2 separate regions of the Homo sapiens genome follow, and region 1 is linked to region 2. Evidence: promoter capture Hi-C in human tissues and cell types (Jung and others, 2019). All regions are on one chromosome and are shown on one strand. Each heading gives the region's core, a stretch centred on a gene start or on the middle of the fragment in contact. The rest is flanking DNA. Distances are from core to core; before and after follow the strand shown.

The links. The method cuts DNA at HindIII sites, captures the fragments that hold promoters and counts their contacts. A contact is called where the count stands out against the background at its distance.
Region 1: a contact is called between a fragment that was not itself captured here and the fragment with the promoter of FAT4 in region 2, in 1 of the 25 tissues and cell types used here (dorsolateral prefrontal cortex).

What each region holds. Positions count from the first base shown.
Region 1 is chr4:127,130,955-127,133,942 of GRCh38, forward strand. All of the region lies in intron 5 of LOC102724210 (a long non-coding RNA gene), which reads right to left. Among named protein-coding and RNA genes, the nearest start is that of INTU, 500 kb to the right of the region's middle. The HindIII fragment of the contact is 3,903 bases long and covers 1-2,988 here.
Region 2 is chr4:125,313,581-125,316,439 of GRCh38, forward strand. It overlaps FAT4 (FAT atypical cadherin 4), which reads left to right and starts at 1,375. Exons shown (of 18, transcript NM_001291303.3): 1 at 1,375-2,397; 2 at 2,820-2,859. The coding sequence starts at 2,832. The HindIII fragment of the contact is 10,793 bases long and covers 1-2,859 here.

The DNA.
Region 1 (2,988 bases), core at 215-2,714, 1.8 Mb after region 2:
GGCTTAAGTTCTTGTGCTTTAGTCCTCTTAGCATTTTCTAAGGAAATAACATCCTCCTTGGTATATTTCTAGTTCATACATCCTCCTAGACCTTTACCATCTAGATCTAGCAGTAAATTTCAGGTCTTCAAAAATAAACCTTAGTCCAGTTGATCGGTGAGATGATAATACTAAAATAGGTTTAATCAACAGTATCTCAGGCAGTCCTTTCTGCCTAATAGTGAAAAGAGGAGAATTTTTAATTATGTAATAACTAAACCAACATTCTCATTCAAACAAAAAAAAATCTTTTTAATTCAACAGGGACAAAAGAAGGGGAAAAAATCCAACATGCAGCTTTTATGATTGACTTCTCACAATTTCTCTGCTATTAACAATTTCCCTTTATAGATGGTCTTCATTACCCTAGAAATAAAGGGTAGCAGCAGAAAACACAAAGCTTTATTTTGAGGGTAGCCCAAAACCCATTAGTTTAAAAGTGTTAACGTTTTATGGTTTCAAGGAACAGTATAAATTGCAGTTGTTTGTGTAAGTTCATTTTTCAAATGTGTGAACACAAATGTCTATTGTCTATGAGGAAAGTTCATGCTGAGCTACAAGTGAATTGTACAATTGAGCTCCCAGCTAAGCAGCCGCCTCTGCCAAGCTAGCCATTTTCATAAGTGGTCCTAAATTTGATACAGGGGCAAATAATTTTTTATTGTTTTCCCAGAGGGAGAAGGCTCTTTTTACAGACCACAGACCAGTAACGCTTTATATGTATATTCTTGCTGACATTGCATTTTTTCTTTTTTTAAAATATAAAAGAATCTGAGTCTGTAATTTTTACCTTCCTTTTGTTAAAACTGTGCAAAAGGCCTACTAACCTCTACCTTAAAGCCCTGACTTTATTCTTTGCTGCAGATATCATTAAAATCTTTCTCTACTTTCTGCTCAGCAATTTCTTTCTTATAAAGAAGCATGGTCATTCATTGTATTCCCAGAGAACTCCACAGAGAGATCAGCTCACCCAACTTCAGCCTATGTCTTGAAATTAGTGAGGAGTTTATCTTCTGTCTTCTTAGTCACTTGGTGTCTTTTCAAACCATTTTAGATACAAATAACCTCAGAAAATCTATTCAAATTGGTAAATAAATCTTTTGAGCATATCCTTCATTAATAGTTTAGCATAAGCAATCTTTGTGATGTAACTGTTTTGTATCTTAACTTTGGTTGTGGTCACACAAATCTGCACTTATAAGAAAACTGAATAAAACTAAATACTAAACACACACACACACACACACACACACAAATAAGTCCATGTAAACTGATGATTATAAATAAGGCTGATGGATTGCCACATATTCATTACCGATGGATTCACCCAGTACGCTGGGTGTGGTATTATAGTTATGCAAGATGTTACCACTGGGGAAAACTGAGTGAAAGGTATATGAATCTTTCTGTGTTAATTCTTACAACCGCATGCAAATCTAAAATTATCTAAAAATAAAACATTTATAAAAATCGTTAGCAAATCACACATTTTGGGGTGTTTTTAATTTTACCACCTAAAGAAAGTTATCCCTGAAATATCTAGAAGACAATGAAAACGTGTAATATAGTGAACAACAGTGACCTTTGTGCTGCCCCTTCCTCATCCATGATTATGAATTGCCACTGCCTGCAAGGGGAGCCCGACCCCCTCAGCAAAGCCAGTATATGTCATTTTTAATTTTCTGACTTAGAAGTGGTAACCTGGTTTCGATTATGTGCTTGAGTGTGGCTGCAACAGGATCTCCAGTTGGCTTCTGAGTTTTCCAAGGTAGACTCACCGGTCATTTTTATTTCAGTTGTATATTCAGACATGCCAGATCACAGCCATGAAGGAAGGAGAGCCTACATTAATGTCATTGACTCTGCCTCTCACAAATGCAGTCACAGAAAACTATCCTTAGGGGTGGATGTCTTCATAAGGTATCAAAAGAGAAATTTCCTTTTACGTTTCCTCTTGCCTTTTTCTAAAACTAATTATTGTGGCCTGCAACATATGAATAGGGAAAATAGATGAATTGTACTACAGAAATGAAGTTGTCATCTAAACTTTCTGGCATTACAGTTAGATTCCAATTTAATACTGTGAAATGAAATTGCTTTAAAAATTCAATATCCTAGTCAATTGCTATCCTGTCTCTAAAGTCTCTAAAGTTCTGTAAATTAATAGATACAACCCATTGCATCTTCAAACCTGAAAAATATGCAAGCTTAGTTTCATTAAAAATAATCCCCCCTACCACACATCTCGACACCTTTCAAAAGGAGGGTTGTGAAGGTTTAGATTCAAACTTCTAAACTGAGTTAATAAGACTTACTCAATCAGAATTGTCTAGGACTTCAAAAAAATTGCAGGCTGTATCTAAATTTTAAAATCGTGCATGCCAGAAAACATCAAAGAGCTACAAATTCAAACAAAATAGCCAGCACTTGCAGCTGCAAGAGAGCTAGCAATTTATTCAAGTACGGTTCATAGATAATGTGACCCAAACAGACACCTATGCAGAGGACCAACTCTAATATGGGAAAAAAGAAAAATGAGGCTAGAATATAGCTATTTGTTTTCTGCAGTGGAGTCTACTTTCAAAGACTTACTATTTTTCTTCAATTGTTCAAAGTAGCCCTTGTGACTCCAGAAATAATGATAAAGAATAGTATTTTGAGTCCCCAGAAGCTCATGAATCATTGGCTCTGCCTTCTCCATTGATAACCTACAAGTAACAAGTTTCTTACCCACCCACCCTGAAGTTACATGTAAGAATAAAAACTGCAGCAATGCTTGAAGCATTATAAATGTCTAAGATAAAAAAGTATCAGTCTAGTAACATTTTTATAATGTTAACTAACTGGAGGGAAAATTTACATAAATTACTGGAAATCTAATATGCAATCTACTTTAAAATAAATTCAGTATTAATACTTTTATTCATATAAAACTTACATTTACATTTT
Region 2 (2,859 bases), core at 125-2,624:
ACCAGGAGACTAAAGATGTAAGACTGACGTAGAACAGCAGAGGGCAGTATTTACTCATGACTGAACCCTCTCTGGGCGCAGAAAGTTTTACGTTTGTGAGGGATCCTTGTGGCAGAAATGTATGACATATGCCCTGTATTTGCATTGTTTGGCTTGAATTCTTATTTTCTAGGTTGGTTCCCTTAAAGGGGAAAAATATCGATCTGATTCCTAGTAACGTTTTTCTTCTTTTAAAGAAACGATGCATGCCACCACAAAAATTAACTGCAGTGAATAGTGGGTGAGTTGATCTGAGTGCATTAAGTGGCATGTGGGTATTTTTAAAAACTTAAGCTTAAATATTATTTTATTTATTTCTACTTTCTCGTATCTATTTCTCCCAGACTGAAAAGCAAAATAAAACTTTATTAGGTTTCCTTTGACTAAAAAATGTGGAGGTGGAAATACTCCATCAGGGATCAAAATTCCAAACTAACTTTGCAACAGGAAAAGATCTCCCTCTTTTCAAAGGGCTGCCATTATTATTGTTGTTGAAACCCTAAGGTTTGGGCTACTGGCACCTGGAATCCAGTTGGGAAAGAAAACAAAACAAACACTGAGTTCCCCTGGCCTTTCCTATAGTAGGAAGTCCAAAGTGCCCTTGCTACGGAGGCCTCCTGCCCCCTAGTCACCTGGAAGGTGGGGGAGAGGGGCAAGTGAGTGAAGATTTAGAGTTTAGCTCGCCCTAGACAGCAGGGAGCCCACTGTGTAGAAAGAGGAGCAAAGGGGAGGATTTGATTTGGATTCTGTGGGATCACACTGTATGGCAGCTCTATCCCTTGCATAAAGAGAGAAGGGGCAGGAAATGGTTAAAGCAAATCTGCACTGTGCATTCCCAGACAGGCTTTGCTTAATCCTTCCTCCCCGCTTTAACAGACCCTCACCCCCCGCCTTTCTTTTATTTCTCTCGACCCCCTTACCCCTGAGTTATTACTAGCATAACAACCTAACGGTCTTCCCCCAGACCCTGCCACTAAAGTTATTTATCTGCAAACCTGACCCCACCCCCATCTATTCTGCGGCAGCCTTTTGCTGTTATTGCTCTGACGCCGGCCAAGATTTGGCCGAAAAGGAAAAAAAAAAAAAAAAAAGAAAAGAAAAAAAATCACCCCCCTTTTTAGCGCCTCCGCCTCGCTGTGCTCCCACACCAGACCGCCTACAGCCCTCCGGGAGGCTGAAGTGATTAGCATCCCGAGAAGCCAGTCGGAGGCCGGGCAAGGCGGAGGGCGCTCGCGGTAGGAGTGCCGGTCGGGGCTGCTTCAGCTCCGGCCCAATGGGGCTGGGGCGAGGGAGGGGCAGAAGGTGACAGGACTGGGAGCTAGGGGGAGTCCAGGCGAACTAAAGTGCGGGGATCAATGAGTGTCGAGCAAAGTTTCTGAGTGCTGCTCCAGCTCGCGGTCTTCCCTCCCCCTCTGTTTGTGTTTCGGCGACGCGCTGTGTGTGTGTGTGTGCGTGTGTATGTGTGTGTGTGTGCATGCCTGTGCGGCGGGGAAGGGGCGGGGAGAGTGTGAGGGACCAGGCGGGAGGTGGAGAAGGGCTCGCGGAGCCCTAGCTCCACCGCAGTCCAACCTTCGGCCCCGGCCGGCGAGAGGGAGAGCGCTGACAGGCGCCGTCCGGAGCTGCGGAGGGCGTCACTACAGCCCAGCGCCGACTTCGCCGCCTCCGCTGCCAACTGTGAAGGAGAGAGAGGCATCAACCACCCCCCGCCCCAAACAAAAAGCCTTGTGGATTACAAAGTGAAACTGACACGGGACAATAAAAGCAGAGATAGCGAGGGCAGGGGCGAGGCGCGCTAGAGTGGGCTTCTGACTGGGGCCGCCGGAGAACGACCCCCCCTGGCATGGTGAGGGGAGGGCGACTCGGGGACCGCACGCTGTTTCTGCCCGACCCCTGCGAGGCCGAGAAGAAAGGGGAAACTGCGTTCGATTTGGATGTACAAATAATGGGTCGGCAGGCGCCCCGGCAGAGGTGAAAAATGCCGAGGAGCCCTGGCTGTTGTTTGTGCCGGACCACGGGCTTGAAGCCGCAACAGGGGCGGCGGCGGCGGCGGCTGCAGGAGGGGAAGGGGCAGAGTTGAGCGCTCCCGGGTACGGGAGCCAGAGCGCGAACGCTAGCGCTTGGAACGCAGTTCCCGAACTGCCTGCGCGCAGACGCCGCCGCCTGGGCCTCAGCGGCCACTGCCGGCGCCCTGTTGGAGGGGCGTTGCAGCCTGGTTTTTGAGGAGTGGGGACTCCAGGAATTCCATCGCCTCCAGCTTTTGGGAAAGAAATTCGATTCTCCCGGTTCCCCACCACCCCTTCCCCGGTGCGCAGTTGTGCTTGGACGTTTGTTCCTCCCTCTTCACGTTCTTCGCTGCGGGTAAGTTCTAAAGTTTCTGAAGACCGTTCTTTGCAATGATTCCTCATATACCTTAGATACAGGCAACTTCTCCCAACTCTCATCCACCCGGGTGAAAACGCTCAGACTATCTGGATTCAAAAACAAAGTAAAAGGGGGCATATATAAGAGGCTTGAGAAACTTTTCTGGGAACTCAGCTCACAGGAGTGTCCCGCGGAATGCCCTGCCGCTTTTCGCCACAGCATCTCTCTTGCACTCCGCGTTCAACTGGCTACCTAGAGTCTTTTGCTGATGCTACTTGCTTTTGCCGGACTGGAGGTTCTTTGAAATAGCAGAGGTCTCAGACCAAGCCGTCAGCTGAATCTTTGCTGGCGCTCCTTAATCCCTGTAAATATCATTGCGTTTGCTTCACCCCTTCCTTCTCTTTATCACATCGTTTTAGGGAGCCAGGACCATGGACTTAGCACCAGACAGGGCTACTG